5 separate regions of the Homo sapiens genome follow, and all the other regions are linked to region 1. Evidence: promoter capture Hi-C in human tissues and cell types (Jung and others, 2019). All regions are on one chromosome and are shown on one strand. The core of a region is centred on a gene start or on the middle of the fragment in contact, and the rest is flanking DNA. Distances in the headings are between cores, read along the strand shown. Region 1 holds the start of CYTH1 (cytohesin 1). Region 2 overlaps TNRC6C (trinucleotide repeat containing adaptor 6C). Region 3 holds the start of SYNGR2 (synaptogyrin 2). Region 4 holds the start of TK1 (thymidine kinase 1). Region 5 has its middle 23 kb from the start of LINC01993.

Region 1 (2,891 bases), core at 192-2,691:
CCCTGTCTCTACTAAAAATACAACAATTAGACAGGCGTGGTGGCACGCGCCTGTAGTCCCAGCTACTCAGGAGCCTGAGGCAGGAGAATCGCTCAGCTCACCCAGGAGGCCGAGGTTGCAGTGAGCCGAGATGGCGCCACTGCACTACAGCCTGGGCGACAGAGTGAGACTCCGTTTCAAAAATAAAATAAAATAAAATAAAATAATAAAATAAAATAAAATAAAAAATTAGCCGGGCATGGTGGCGTGCGTATGGTTCCAGCCACTCAAGAGGCTGACGTGAGCTACGATCACGCCACTGTGCTCCAGCCTGGGTGACAGAGCGAGATCTCGTCTCTTAAAAAAAAAAAAAAAAGAAAAATGTCCCATTAGTTATTAAACTAGAATTGGGTTCCATTTGGCCACAGAGTTCTGCTTTATTTGTACTTTGCTACCAAACCACAAAAGTTCACCACTTGTTCTATTTGCCATTCTTCCTTTTAATTCCTCATGAACAAACTTAATAAATTAACTACAGCATGTCAAACAACCTTTTGCAACCCTTGCAATTTCAAACTCTTGGAGGGAGGCACCCCTGGCCTGGGCCAGCAGCCTCAACGCGCGGGAGCGAAGGGAGCGGGACAGCGGCTCCGCTTGCCAAGTCCCCAGTCAGGGGAGGAGCGGCGTCCCCACCGCGGTGCCCCTCGGGCTCCACACCCGCGTCTCGGCAGGCGGCGACGCACCGGACCGGCGGCTACCGGGCCCAGACTCCCGCGGGCAGGGCCGTCCCGGAGCCCGCGCCTCGCCGGCGGCGCCGCTCCCCGTTCTCATTTCTGAACAAAGACGTGGACCGGGCACAACTCGCTGACGCCGAGAGCGGCCGGAAACTGCGGGGAACGCGGGCCCGGCCATCCGCGCGTCCGCCCCGAGCCCCGCAGAGGGGCGGCAGGGCCAGCGACCTCCACCCCTCGGCCCCCCGGGACCCGGACTGCGACCCCTGCCCCGGGGACCCCAGCGACCCCAACGACTCTCATCCCTCAGAGCCCCTGAGATCCTGCCCCGCGACCCCAACGACCCTCATTCCTCAGAGCTCGCGGCGACCCCTGGCCCCGCGAGACCGCGAGCCCGGCCTGTGACCCCCGCCCCAGCCACCCACATCCCTCAGCGCCGCCAGCGACCCCGGCCCCGGCGACCCTCATCCCTCAAAACCCCCTGCGACCCCCGCCCCGCGAGGGCCCCGCGCACCGCTCGCCCGCCGGTCGCCCCGGGCTCCGCGTCCCGCACCAGTGTCCCCGGGAAACGCCAGCCGCCGCAAGCGCTGCCGGACGGCCGGGCCCGGAGGGGACTGGGGGACAGCGAGGGGGAAGCGTCCGCCGCCGGGGCGCACTGACCGTAGCTGTCGTCCTCCTCCATGGTGCGGGAGCCGGGCTCCGCGCTCCGGCTCGCCGCTCGCGTCCCGCCGCGCCACCCGCGCCCCCGCTCGCCTCAGCCCGGCTCGGAGCCCCGCCCCCGGCGCCCCGCGCCCCGCGCCCCGCCCGCCCGCGCCTGCGCCTGCGCCCGCCCCCTGCCCCCGGCCCGAGGCCCCGCCCCTCGCCCGAGGCCCCGCCTTCCTCCCGCGCGCGCCGCACCCCGGGTACCCGGCCTCCTCCCGAGGCTCCGGCCTGCGCACGCGCGTCCACCCGAGGCTCCTCCCCTGCCCCCGCCTCTAGACCACGCCCCCGTCCCGAGACACACACACCCCCCCCCCTTCTCCCGGTCCGCCTCCTGGGGCCGAGCAGGTTTCGGTTTCTGAAGGGCGGTGCAAGTCCCCGGGGTGGCGGACTCGACCTGGCCTGCAGCCAGGCTACTGCACGAAAGCCCAAGGTCGTGTCCGGCCACTGAAGGGCAGGGTGGTCCTTGCTGACGCCAACCTGGAAGGTCAGACCCGGCCCCAGCTTGCCAGGGAGGGCCCGGTCCTTGGCGAAAGGCCACAAAAGCTATTTGAAGTCATTTACTCCTGCGTTCAGAACCTTTACATGCTGTATGTCCTAAGTTTACTGCTTCTACTTCTTTTTATTTGTCCTGAGTTTTACCTGGGTCAAGATTGAAAGGAGGGCACTTCAAGTCCCAGCGTTTTGGATTTTATTTATTTATTGGAGACGAGTTTCGCTCTTGTTGCCCAGGCTGGAGTGCAGTGGCCCGATCTCGGCTCACTGAAACCTCCGCCTCCCGGGTTCAAGCGATTGTCCTGCCTCAGCCTCCTGAGTAGCTGTGATTACAGGCATGTGCCACCAGGCCCGACTAATTGTATTTTTAGTAGAGACGGGGTTTCGCCATGTTGGCCAGGCTGGTCTCGAACTCCTGACCTCAAATAATCCGCCTGCCTCGGCCTCCCAAAGTGCTGGGATTACAGGTATGAGCCACCGCGCTCGGCCTTCTCTTTCTTTATGACAGAGGACAATCCCACTGCTGCAGAATGCCAGCACCAGAACCCCCCTTTCCCCCTGCAGTCACTTGTGGCTCCTGCACCCTACACAGAACACTCACTGAGAACTCCACAGAGATCCCTGGACTGCTGGGAATTTTTTGGACCAACCAAAAAACGGGAGTAAAAGCCACAGAACTCTTTCCTTGTGGGCCCACCTGTCCTGAGTTTTACTATTTTTCTTTTTCTTTTATTTATTTATTCATTTTGAGACAGAGTCTCACTCGCTGTGTTGCTCAGGCTAGAGTACGGTGGCACCATCATGACTCCCTGCAACCTCTGCTTCCCAGGCTCAAGCAGTTCTCCCACCTCAGCCTCCTGAGTAGCTGAGACTGCAGGCACCGGCCACCATACCTGGTTAATTTTTGTATTTTTTGTAGAGACGGAGGTTGCTAGGTTGCCCAGGCTGGTCTCGAACTCCTAGGCTCAAGTGATCCTTTCTCTTTGG
Region 2 (2,891 bases), core at 192-2,691, 740 kb before region 1:
GCCTGGGTGACAGAGCAAGATTCCATTAAAAAAAAAAAAGAAAGAAAGAAAGAATGGAAAGAGACTTAGTCTGACAGTTATTTATTTCATTATTCTTTTTCTTTATATAGAATATGCTTCCTAACGAGATGTAAATAGTAGATTAATCTGACTCTTAAAACATTTTGTCATAATTCACCTTTTGATTTACATTAATCTGCAAGCTTGCTTCTATAGAAAATTGCAACCACACATTTTGCCATTTCTTAGACAAACTAGTGTACTGGCTTCACACTTTTTCACTCTTTTTCCTTTTCTTCCTATATGAGAATGTTCAGGCAGCAGTGCCACACTCGGCTTGCACAGCTCTGAGAAGGGAAGAAGATGCTAGCCTTTCAGAACGGTGGTTTTGTCATGTGTGTCTTCATTTGTTCATTGAGCAGAACATTTGTTGAATGCCTACCAAACATCACATACCCTGCACTGGGGATGGACAATTCATGAGTGAAGTGTTTTGGAATAACCAATAAGTAAGTCAGCCACTTCAAGGTATTGTAACAGAGATAAGCATAGAGTGCCACATGGGAAGGACAACTAACCCAGACTACGGATAGGGGACTGCAAGGAAGCCTTTCTGGTGGAGGTGATATGAGCTGAGTTTCAAGTTAGCTGTGCTGGGCAAAGAAGGTGAAAGGGCGTCGCAGATGGAGTGACCTGCATGCATGAAAAGCGCAGACCCGCAGTTGTAAAGCCTCTCAGTAAGCGCTGCAGGCTCATTGTGGCGGGGGGCAGTGGGAAGATGTAAGGCTACAGAAGTTGGCTGTTGGTATTACTAAGTAATAGTAATAAACCAGCATAAAAGCTTCTTTTGGTAATAGAGCCAAATTAAATTCAGATTTAAAGCTCTTCCTCCAAGTTGCTTTTGGAACTTGATAGACTAATTCCAAACTTCATCTAGAAGAGCGAATGTACGTGAATAGAAGAGCCAAGAGACTGAAAAAGCATAATGAGCTATCACTTTGAGCTGTGATCCTCTAGTAATTTTAACAGCGTGTTTCTAGGGCAGGAGTAAACACAGATCCAGGAACTATGATATAAAGAGAGCAGGGGGAAAAACAGATGTATACACGGAGAGTTGCAGATCACTGAGAAAATAGTGGTTCAGATCAATATCGAGTGCTAGAAAGCCATATGCAAGACAAATATAAGAACTACAGAAAGATGACGTAAGAGAGTATTTTCTAAATCTTGGGATAAAATTTTAATCATAAGCCATGAAAAGAAAGACTGACAAGTTTGAGTGTATAAAAATTTAAAAGTTTTGTACATGAATATGAATAAAATCTGAGAGGACATGTTTACAGTGTAAATAGCAAAAGATAAATATCTCAAAAATACCAAGTGTTCCGACAAATCAAAAGAAAAACAGTCCCATAGAAGAATGGGCAAAGAATGTGAACGGGAAGATCATAGAACTACCACAAATGGGTCCTAAGTATGTTGAAAGTATTCCCTTGTGGCTGGGTGCGGTGGCTCACGCATGTAATCCCAGCACTTTGGGAGGCCGAGGCAGGTGGATCACGAGTTCAGGAGATTGAGACCATCCTGGCTAACACGGTGAAACCCCATCTCTACTAAAAAAAAAAATACAAAAAATTAGCCGGGCGTGGTGGCGGGCGCCTGTAGTCCCAGCTACTCGGGAGGCTGAGGCAGGAGAATGCCGTGAACCCGGGAGGCGGAGCTTGCAGTGAGCTGAGATGGTGCCACTGCACTCCAGCCTGGGCGACAGAGCGAGACTCCGTGTCAAAAAAAAAAAAAAAAAAAAGTATTTCCTTGTAATCAGGGAAAAGATAAATGGAAACAGCATTGATAGATCACTTTTCACTTACCAAATTGTCAAAACTTTAAATCTTGTTAATATTCCTCTATTGTAATAACACAGTACTATGGATTGAGTGCTTATCATTTGCAAGATCCAATTGCTTTACACATATTAACTCATTTAATCTTCTCAAGACCCTGTAATCACCGCAGGCGACCAGCGAGAGTGTGGGAAAAGGCGACGCTGGTGTGCTGTTGGTCGGAATGTAAGGAGGCATGTGGCAGGATTTATCAAAATGTTGGGTAATATGACGTAGTACATCCTGCAGACACCTAGAGCACAGCTCTTTACTGACGACTGAATGCTCTGCATTTGTCCTCTGCCCAGTGGCATGAATTAATAACAGGCAAGTTGGAACGTGTCGAGAGGCAGTAGGGACAAAAACAGAGTTGACTGTATTCGTTACAGAACAGGCACAGGTGTAGATAGCATTAGTCTTCCAGTGACCAGCAATCTCACTTTATCCTGTGATGATAAAGAGCAGCCTGTGTTTGAGAACCAGTTGAACTTTTGCTAGGCTGCAGGTCCCCACAGAACAGCAATTTCAAATCTTGCCCCCCCCCCCCACTCCCTACCTCTTACCAGGTCAGCCATCCCCTCTGTTCTTGGTGTCACCTTCTTGCCGTCACCCACGTTGGCCTGGGCATTGGGCAGAAGCTTCATTGGTTTTGTAGCGTTATTGATGTCAACAAGTATCCCATTTTAGAAGGTAACCAAGACTTCTAATACTTGCATGCAAAAATAAGTCCTAGATGCTTTTAATATTCGATAATGCTGATGTTGAAGTGAAATTCAGTCAAGTGAAACCAATTTTGTAATGGGCTGACAATTCTAAATGGAGCTTTCCAGCGTCCAGCTGACCCTCCTGCCAGTGGTTAATGCTGTGGCTGTTGTCAGGCAGCATCCTGTGGCTGCCATCCCTCGTGGGAAACACAGGCTTGCACACAAGGGCATCCAGAGCAGACAGGGCAATAAAGGCCTAGAAATGCCCACTAAGGACTGGGAGAACAACAGAGGGGAGCCTACAACA
Region 3 (2,891 bases), core at 179-2,678, 610 kb before region 1:
ACCTCGTGATCCGCCTGCTTCAGCCTCCCAAAGTGCTGGAATTACAGGCGTGAGCCACCACGCCCGGCCGATATGTGGTCTTACTCTGTCACCCAGGCTGGGGTGCAAAGGCGTGATCTTGGTTCACTGCAAACTCCGCCTCCTGGGCTCAGACAATTCTCCCACCTCAGCCTCTGGAATAGCTGGGACTGCTAGTAGCTGCCACCACGCCTCGCTAACTTTCGTTTTTGGTTTTGTTTGTTTGTTTGTTTGTTTGTTTGTTTTGTTTGTTTTGAGATGGACTCTTGCTCTGTTGCCCAGGCTGGGGTGTAGTGGCTCGATCTCAGCACACGGCCACCTCTGCCTACCGGTTTCAAGCAATTATCCTGCCTCAGCCTCCCAAGTAGCTGGGATTACAGGCGCTTACCACAACGCCCAGCTAATTTTTTTGTTGTTGTTGTATTTTTAGTAGAGACGGGGTTTCACCATGTTGGCCAGGCTGGTCTCAAACTCCTGACCTCAGGTGATCCAACCGCCTCGGCCTCCCAAAGTGCTGGGATTACAGGTGTGAGCCACTGCGCCCGGCCTTGCACACCATCTTTTTTTTTTTTTTTTTTTTTTTTTTTGACACAGAGTTTTGCTCTTGTTGCCCAGGCTGGAGTGCAATGGCACAATCTCGGCTCACCGCAACCTCCACCTCCCAGGTTCAAGCGATTCTCCTGCCTCAGCCTCCCGAGTAGCTGGGATTACAGGCATGCACCACCACACCAGGCTAATTTTTGTATTTTTAGTAGAGACGGGGTTTCTCCATGTTGGTCAGGCTGGTCTCGAACTCCTGACCTCAGGTGATCCAACCGCCTCGGCCTCCCAAAGTGCTGGGATTACAGGTGTGAGCCACCGCTCCCGGCCTTGCACACCATCTTAAGTGTGACGCCACACTGCCCTTCACAGCCTTGGGGCTCTGCCCAGACCAGGAGGAATGGGGAGGGGGTCTTTGACCCTACCCCAGGCTTAGCCCCAGAGAGGAGGAAAGAGTGGCAGGCCAGGCAGGGAGGGGCTCCAGGGTGTGGCCTGGGTTTTTCAGTGGGATGGGGGAGGGGTTGCTTATGAGCCTGGGTGGGTTCTTGGTAGGTGGTGGGCTTCCTAGAGGAGGCGGTGGGAGGGCAGGGGCAAAGAGGGTGAGCGGTCCTCAGTTCGTCCGTCTTCCCGGGGGACTCTCTGACCCTTTCTGGTCCGTGCTGCGGCCGGCGTGGCCCGGAGACTAGCCCCTCAACCCCGAGGTGGGGTGGACCCGGGTGCTCCGCGGCCACAGCCCCTCCCCGCCTCTAGAAGCGCAGTCCCGCGGCTCGCCCGCCGCTCGCGAGGGCCGCACTTTGCCCTCGGTCCCTAGCGGCGCCTGGCCACGCCCCCGGCGGGTGGAGTCGGGCGGGGCGCCGGGCAGGTTCCTCTGCGTTCCGCGGCGGCGGCAGCGGCGGCGACGGCGACATGGAGAGCGGGGCCTACGGCGCGGCCAAGGCGGGCGGCTCCTTCGACCTGCGGCGCTTCCTGACGCAGCCGCAGGTGGTGGCGCGCGCCGTGTGCTTGGTGAGCCCGGGGAGGGCGGGCCGAGGGCACCCTGGGGACCCCCTCTCCGTCGCCAGGCCCGGCGGGGCCCCTAGCCCACGAGCGCGACAGGTGGCGGCGGCCGCGTCCGGGGCCTGGCGGCGAGCGGGGCCGGCGTCCAGCGTCCCGGGCCCCGCCTTCCCGCCCTCCACAGTCTGTCCCGCTGTCCCCTCCCGGTCCCGGGTCCCGCCACCCACCCCACCCCCAGCCTCGCGCCCCGACGCGGGGTGTCCGGATCTCCGCAGGGAGCGGGCCCCTGCCTCGCTGGCAGTGGGAGGAGTTTGGGGGCGGCTCCCGGACAGGTGGCCCGCACGCCGCGACTCCCAGATTGGGGAGTTCACCGGGACGGGGTTTTCCGAAGCCACGTGGGGTAAGGGAGGGGGCGGGGGGCGACCCAACGCCCGGAAACAGGGTGTCCTTCCCACTCGGGGCAGGCCACGGGTCCGCCTTCCCACCCGAAGTTGAGGGACCCCAAGATGTACCCCCTCCCTGTAAGGTGGGCAATACCTCCAAAACCAGGTTTTGTGTGTGTGTGTGTGTGGCGGGGAGGGGGCCTGTTCTTGGACAGCCAGCCCTGAAAGCTGGAGGGGGTGGCATGAGGGGGCAGGCAGAGGTGGGCCTGCTGTGCCCAGACCATGCCTGGGCCTGGAGCTTCTGAGGTCCTCCAGGGCGCCCACACCAGCTCCCAGCCAGGCTGTGGGATCTGATCGCCTCTGTCCTGGGCTGTGTCCAAGAATCAGGTGCCCAGTGGGTCGGGATGGCAGTGCCAGGAGTCCTGGATGGGCACCCTGCTCCCATCATCCCGGAGATCCGGCTTCATCTCCATCTGGGGGCGGGGCCTGTGACTGCCAGCTCCAGAGCCCTATGGAGAGCTCCCTGGGACAACAGGGCAGGACTGGCAGGGGAGAGTCCTGGGGCCATCCCAGAGGGATCCTGATGCTCACAGACCTGTCCCACACCTGCTGAGGTGGAGCAGGCGTGGGTGGTGGCCTTCAAGTTTAGGGAGGTGGTATGGGGCTCTTCCCAAGGGGCTGGAGCTCCCCTACATCCACCCTGGGTCCTCCAGGTGTCTGAGTTCAGAGCTGTATCCACAGGCCTGAGTTAGTCCCCTTGTAGTGCCCTGTGCATGCAGGGCCCTCTGTGGGGTGGGAGACAGACTGGGAGGGACCAGGATGCCACAGAGGCTGCAAGTCCTTGTGTGGAGACAGCTGGCCAGGCTGAACCAGGGAGGGTTCCAGGGGTTCCAGGAGGTGAAGACACAGGGGCGCCAGCATGGCCTTCCCAAGAGGGCCTGTCCACCTTCACCAAGG
Region 4 (2,891 bases), core at 123-2,622, 600 kb before region 1:
ATGCCCAGATAATTTTTGGTTTTTTTTTTCAGTAGAGATGGGGTTTTACCACGTTGACCAGGGTGGTCTCAAACTCCTAACCTCAAGTGATCAACGCACCTCAGCCTTCCAAAGCGCTGGGATTAAAGGCGTGGGCCACCACACCTGGCATACAGCTTTTCTAAATTAATTTCAGAAAGTCTTTGTGTGCAGCGTCAAAAGCACTTGCTTCTGGGTCCAAGAAGTCCAACTCTGAGCCACATCTTCCTGAGCAAGGGGTTTGAGCTGAAGTGATCCCCAGGGCCATAAAAGAATGTTGGGGCAGGGCATGGTGGCTAACATCTGTAATCCCAGCACTTTGGGATGCTGAAGTAGGAGGATTGCTTGAGACCAGGAGTTCAAGACCAGCTTGGGCAACATAGCAAGACCCCAGCTCTATAAAAATAAAATAAAATTAGCTGGGTGGAGGCGGGGGGGTGCACGCCTGTAGTCCCAGCTACTTGGGAGGCTGAGGTGAGAGAATTGCTTGAGCCCAGGAGTTTGAGACCAGCCTGGGCAACATAGCAAGATCCTACCTCTAGAAGAACAAAAACAAAACAAAAAGAATGGTGCGTGGGTAGTTTACTCAAGAAACTCACTAGCCCCACCCGGGTCAGGGAATGGTTCTATCACCTCAGGAGAGCAGAGGCTCCACGGCTTCAGACTCCTTGGTTTAGAAAGCGACTACGTTTCCTTGGCCTTAGAAGGAAACAGCCACATTGAATAGGGGTGTACAAAAAGGCCTGGCCTACAGGGGACACAACTGGTTGCCACCTTCTCAGAGGACTTGGTGGGGAAGACAGCTAAGCTGTAAGCAGCTGTCACCAGCTCCAGGAGGGAGTGGCGTCCACACAGGACGAGGGGCTTGGCCTGGGCAGAAGAGGGCAGAGACTTCCTCCTGGACTGAATTCAAGGGAGGAGCACCCCAGGCGGGAGCTGTAGGAGGCTGTGCTGGTCCTTCTAGGGGAAGGGAAGGGGAGGGAAGGGAAGGGGAGGGGAGGGGAGGGGAGGGAAGGGGAGGGGAGGGACGGGACAAGGGGTCCCCGGAGAAGAGGAAGGAGCTCCACCCCAGCCCCGCGAAGCCATTACCTTTTTCCTGAGAACATCGGCCCGAGAATCACCTAGGAGAGAAGGTGAGGTCATTTGAGGGCCCGCCCTGCGCGGATGCCTGGACACAGGCTATCACCACGACCACCTCATCCCCAGCCACGCGCAGGGCTGGCCCCCGCACCTGGATCTGCCCCCGGGTCTTGCTGGGGGAGCCAGGCAGCACAGTGGGCAGGTTAATGCAGCTCATTGCGCCTCCGGGAAGTTCACGAACCCGAGTACTCTCCAAGGCCGTCCCGCAGTAAGCCCCTGGTTCCCGCGCCGACCGCTTTAAACCACGGCGTGCTGGCCAATCACGAGCCGGCCCCGCCGCCATGGGGCCAATCAGCGCCCGGCCGCTGACCTGGCGGGAGATTTGGCCGCAGCCCGCCCCCTCGTGGGAGGAATCCGGGACGTGCGCCCAGGGACTGGGAGGGCCTGGAAATCAGGGCGATGGACGTGGCTGATCGGGGTGGGGCCTGGTCTGAGCCCCGCCTCGGTCCGCCCACCAAGTTTAAAGGGGCGGAGCGAGGCGGGGCTCTGGCCATATAAACAGAGGGACGCACGCCCATGCGGCTGTAGACGCCATGATGGATGTGTCTGGTGTGGGTTTCCCAAGCAAGGTTCCTTGGAAGAAGATGTCTGCAGAGGTAGGTGGATTGCAGGGAGGGACTAAGGGGCTGGGGCGGAGTTAGCTCATTTATTAGATTGGAATTCCAAGAAGGAAGCTTAGAAGCCGTCTAGAGCACTCCTGTGGGCATGCAGAGCGCCTAGTGCGTGCCAGGTCCCCAGTGCTTGAGCACCATGGTGTATTTTACCTTCTCCTAAGGATTTTTGTTAACCTGGTTTTCAGGATAAAGAAAATTGAAGTCCTGACTATGCTAATAATATCCGTAGACCCTGCCAGGCGTGGCGGCTCACACCTGTAATCCTAGCACTTTTGGCGGATCACGAGGTCAGGAGTTCGAGACCAGCCTGGCCAACATGGTGAAACCCCGTTTCTACTAAAAATACAAAAATTAGCCGGGCGTGGTGATGTACCTCTGTAATCCCAGCTACTGGGGAGGCTGAGACAGGAGAATCGCTTGAACCCAGGAGGTGGAGGTTGCAGTGAGCCGAGATCATGCCATTTGTACTCCAGCCTGGAAGGCTGGGCGATAGACCAAGACTTAGTCTCAAAAAAAAAAAAAAAAAAAAAAAAAAAAATCCATAGACCCGCAGGAGGTTAGGGGACAAAGTTCTGGACCTTGATCTGAGGTTACACAATGTTTTTGGGTCTGTGCTTATGTGGCACAGGCTGAAGGATTCAGAACAGCTGGTATTTACATTGGGGTTGTGAAGGTTAGAAACATACAGGCCGGGTGCGGTGGCTCAAAAAAAAAAAGAAAGAAAGAAAAGAAACCCATTGTATAATCATGATCATAAATAATAGCAACAAAGATGGTGGTAGTGATCACAGAGTGTGCCAGGTGTGGCTGTAAGGATCCTACAGGTAATAACCTTTCCAGGTACAGATTGGACAGATCCAAGGACCTCTGACAAAGAGCTCCTTCACTGGGAGGAAGAAGCAACCCACACTGACTGGCTTGCTTTATTTTACTCGCATGCTTTATCTCTTTTAACCTTGTGATTTGGATACATGCCTTCTTTTTTTGAGACACAGTCTCGCTCAGTCACCCAGGCTGGAGTGCAGTGGCATGATCTCGGCTCACTGCAACCTCTACCTCCCGGGTTCAAGTGATTCTCCTGCCTCAGCCTCCCGAGTGGCTGGGATTACAGGCACACTG
Region 5 (2,891 bases), core at 255-2,754, 530 kb before region 1:
TTTTGTATTTTTAGTAGAGATGGGGTTTCATCATGTTGGCCAGGCTGGTCTCGAACTCCTGACCTCGTGATCCGCCTGCCTTGGCCTCTCAAAATGCTAGGATTACAGGCTTGAGCCACTGCGCCCGGCCGGAATCTGCATTTCTAACTTTCAGGTAACAGCAGCACGCACGCAGACGGCAAGCCTATCCTGTGGCAGGTGTTCATTACACCCATTTATGTCGGAGGTTGCAATTTTTTGAATTTTTGCCATCAGACCTTGGCGATGACCTTGAGCAGTAGGACATAAATACCTCCCAGATGCTTAGCGTTCCAATAATGGAACACTAGGCATAAATGGGTTTTAAGCGCCAAGGGAGCCACTTCCCCTGCGTCCCAGACCATCACGGACAGCGCTCCGCTGCCGCCTCCACGACCCCCGGCCTGCACGCCGGTCTTCGCCGTAGTCGTCGTCCCCCACGACCGCCTCGGCCATGACGCACCTCATGGCCGGCCCGGGCCTGGTCACCTTGTCGCTGCGCAGGCCCACCACGTAGGCTGCGACCCCCGCGCTCCCACACCCCGCCCGGAGCGCCCCATGTACCGGGGCCGCCGCTCGGGCCAGTCTGCGGAGCATGGCGCGGGCAGCGCCCGACTCCCCACCCCGGCGGGAGCTGCTGACTCCTCTACTCCCCAGCGAAGGCGGCGAGAGCGACGTGGTCGGTGCGGCCAGAATTCCTAGAGCTGGGAAGCAGCCGCCCTGGGCCGGGGGTCCAGGGAGCGAGCCCCGTGGCACGCTGGGAGTTGTAGTTCGCGCTCCCTCGCGGCGGGCGTGCGCGAGCGTCTGCGAACGGGCCCCGTGGCACGCTGGGAGTTGTAGTACGGGCTGCGTCGCGGCGGAGAACCAGCGAGCCCGTGATGCTGAAGCAGAAGGTTCTGCTCATTGAAGGAGAAACCGAGGCCGAGCGAGTGTGTGTGTGTGTGTGTGTGTGTGTGTGTGTGTGTGTGTGTGTGACAGAGTCTCGCTTTGTCGCCCAGGCTGGAGTGCAGTGACGCGATCTTGACTCACTGCAACCTCCGCCTCACAGGTACAAGCAATTCTCCTGTCTCAGCCTCCCGAGTAGCTGGGATTACAGGCGCGCGCCACCACGCCCAGCTAATTTTTTTTTTTTTTTGTATTTTTAGTAGAGAGGAGTTTTCACCATGTTGGCCTGGCTGGTCTCGAACTCTTGACCTCAGGTGATCCACCCGACTTGACCTCCCAAATTGCTGGGATTACAGGCGTGAGCCACTGCACCCAGCCCTGGGCGAGCTTTTATAACACAGACGCTCATGTGGCACTTGCCATGTGCCAGGCTCTGCCCCAGGCCCTTTGCAAATGTTAGCTCAGTTAAACCTCCCAACGACTCTAGGAGACAAGCACTATTGCTATCCCTGTCTTGCAGATGGGGAACAGGAGACGCGGAGCTAACGGACAGCTGGAGGCCACTTGGGTAGGAATTGGTCCGGGCGGGGTACCGCTGTCTCCAGAGGGCAGCCCTAAATCACTGTTTCATGCTGCCCCTAAAACACAGCTTCCCTCGTTTACCATCTTCAGTATTGATTTGTTGAGCAAGTTCGGTGCGCCAGGCAGTGTCCAGGTGTCCAGGTGCCAGGCTGGGGGACAGGGCTATGTCTCCAGCCGGGTTCCAGTCTAAGGGGAGACCGCTAAAAGAATGCGTGGGGAGCCCCTCCTCCATAGGCCCCTGCCCCTGGGTGGACTGCCTCCATGGGGGCAGGGTGGTGCTGAAGTTCAAGCCAGCTGTGTGGCCTTGGACAAGCCATGTAGCTTCTTTGTGCCTCGGTTTCCTCAACTGCAGATTGGGCTGTTGTGAGCATTCAGTGACTGGATATGTGTTTGGTGCTGACCCCAATGCCTGGCTTGCTGTAAGCTCAGGGTGGTCACCCCACTGTGGCTGTTTTTTAATTTTTTAAGACAGGGTCTCACTCTATCCCCCAAGCTGGAGTGCAGTGGTGTGATTACAGCTCAGTGCATTCTTGACTTCCTGGGCTTGGGTGAACCTCCCACCTCAGCCTCCCAAGTAGTTGGGACTACAGGCAAGTGCTACTATGCCTGGCTAATCTTTCTGTGTTTTTCGTAGAGACAAGGTCTTGCTGTGTTGCTCAGGCTGGTCTCAAGCTCCTGAGCCCAAGTGATTCTCCCTCAGCCCCACAAAGTGCTGGGATTACAGGCGTGAGCCATCACGACCTGCCCAGCTGTGGCTGTTATTATCATTGTCGTTACTGATCCCAGCTTGGAACTCTGAGGGCCCGGGGGCTTTGGGGTGAACTCTGACACAGTCTAGACTGTGGGGTGCCCTTCCCCCACACAGGGAGCACAGGCACCCATTGCCACTCAGCGGCTCCTCTTCCTCTTTCTGTCCCCCATAGGAGAAAGATCCAGGAGGGGCCACAGCTGCTGGGCCAAGCGTCTGGTGAGGGTGGCCCTTGGTGAGGAGGACACCCATCCTAGATCAGTCATGGCCAGGCCTTTACCACAGGCCAGCTCCAGGTCAGGCCTGGGGACTTAGGGCGAGCAGAGGTGGCCTGCCCTCCAGAGCTCAGGTCCCAGGGGTGGGGGACAAGATGCTGGCCGTGAGAGGATGGCAGCGAGGAAGCAGCTCTAACAGTCCCAGTCCAGGCAGCAGGGCAGGCTTTTTGGAGGAAGCAGTGATTAGGCTGAGCTTCGAAGATGGAGCCGACTTTGGACAGAGGGATAGCAGGGGTGAAGCCTCTGGGTAGAGAGGAGCTGCTGCGTTTGTGGCCCTGAGGGCCAGCGTGGCTGGGGAAGTGAGCAGGGGTGGGGATGGAGCCCAAAAGCTACATCCGGGGCCTGATGACCTCTCAGGGGCTCTCCATCTCTCTTCCTTCAGC

What was found. Contacts are between HindIII fragments. The study calls those that stand out against the background at their distance.
Region 2: a fragment that was not itself captured here is called in contact with the fragment with the promoter of CYTH1 in region 1 in 2 of the 25 tissues and cell types used here (dorsolateral prefrontal cortex and hippocampus).
Region 3: a contact is called between the fragment with the promoter of SYNGR2 here and the fragment with the promoter of CYTH1 in region 1, in 1 of the 25 tissues and cell types used here (lymphoblastoid cells).
Region 4: the fragment with the promoter of TK1 here is called in contact with the fragment with the promoter of CYTH1 in region 1 in 4 of the 25 tissues and cell types used here (adrenal gland, hippocampus, liver and 1 more).
Region 5: a contact is called between a fragment that was not itself captured here and the fragment with the promoter of CYTH1 in region 1, in 1 of the 25 tissues and cell types used here (spleen).

Annotation. Positions count from the first base shown.
Region 1 is chr17:78,780,832-78,783,722 of GRCh38, forward strand. CYTH1 (cytohesin 1) reads right to left here and starts at 1,442. Exons shown (of 14, transcript NM_004762.6): 1 at 1,371-1,442. The coding sequence starts at 1,392. RefSeq lists silencers at 562-961, 1,222-1,501, 1,542-1,701. The HindIII fragment of the contact is 23,878 bases long and covers 1-2,891 here.
Region 2 is chr17:78,036,895-78,039,785 of GRCh38, forward strand. All of the region lies in intron 4 of TNRC6C (trinucleotide repeat containing adaptor 6C), which reads left to right. Among named protein-coding and RNA genes, the nearest start is that of TNRC6C, 80 kb to the left of the region's middle. The HindIII fragment of the contact is 4,828 bases long and covers 1-2,891 here.
Region 3 is chr17:78,167,153-78,170,043 of GRCh38, forward strand. It overlaps SYNGR2 (synaptogyrin 2), which reads left to right and starts at 1,429. Exons shown (of 4, transcript NM_004710.7): 1 at 1,429-1,563. The coding sequence starts at 1,465. RefSeq lists silencers at 1,092-1,701, 1,732-1,891. The HindIII fragment of the contact is 23,749 bases long and covers 1-2,891 here.
Region 4 is chr17:78,185,680-78,188,570 of GRCh38, forward strand. TK1 (thymidine kinase 1) reads right to left here and starts at 1,373. Exons shown (of 7, transcript NM_003258.5): 1 at 1,250-1,373; 2 at 1,108-1,139. The coding sequence starts at 1,315. AFMID (arylformamidase) reads left to right here and starts at 1,683. Exons shown (of 11, transcript NM_001010982.5): 1 at 1,683-1,754. The coding sequence starts at 1,692. RefSeq lists a silencer at 1,526-1,665. The HindIII fragment of the contact is 12,138 bases long and covers 1-2,891 here.
Region 5 is chr17:78,253,802-78,256,692 of GRCh38, forward strand. It overlaps the pseudogene THA1P. Among named protein-coding and RNA genes, the nearest start is that of LINC01993, 23 kb to the right of the region's middle. RefSeq lists enhancers at 1-320, 321-1,038, 589-858, a silencer at 409-558 and a cis regulatory region at 2,756-2,891. The HindIII fragment of the contact is 6,404 bases long and covers 1-2,891 here.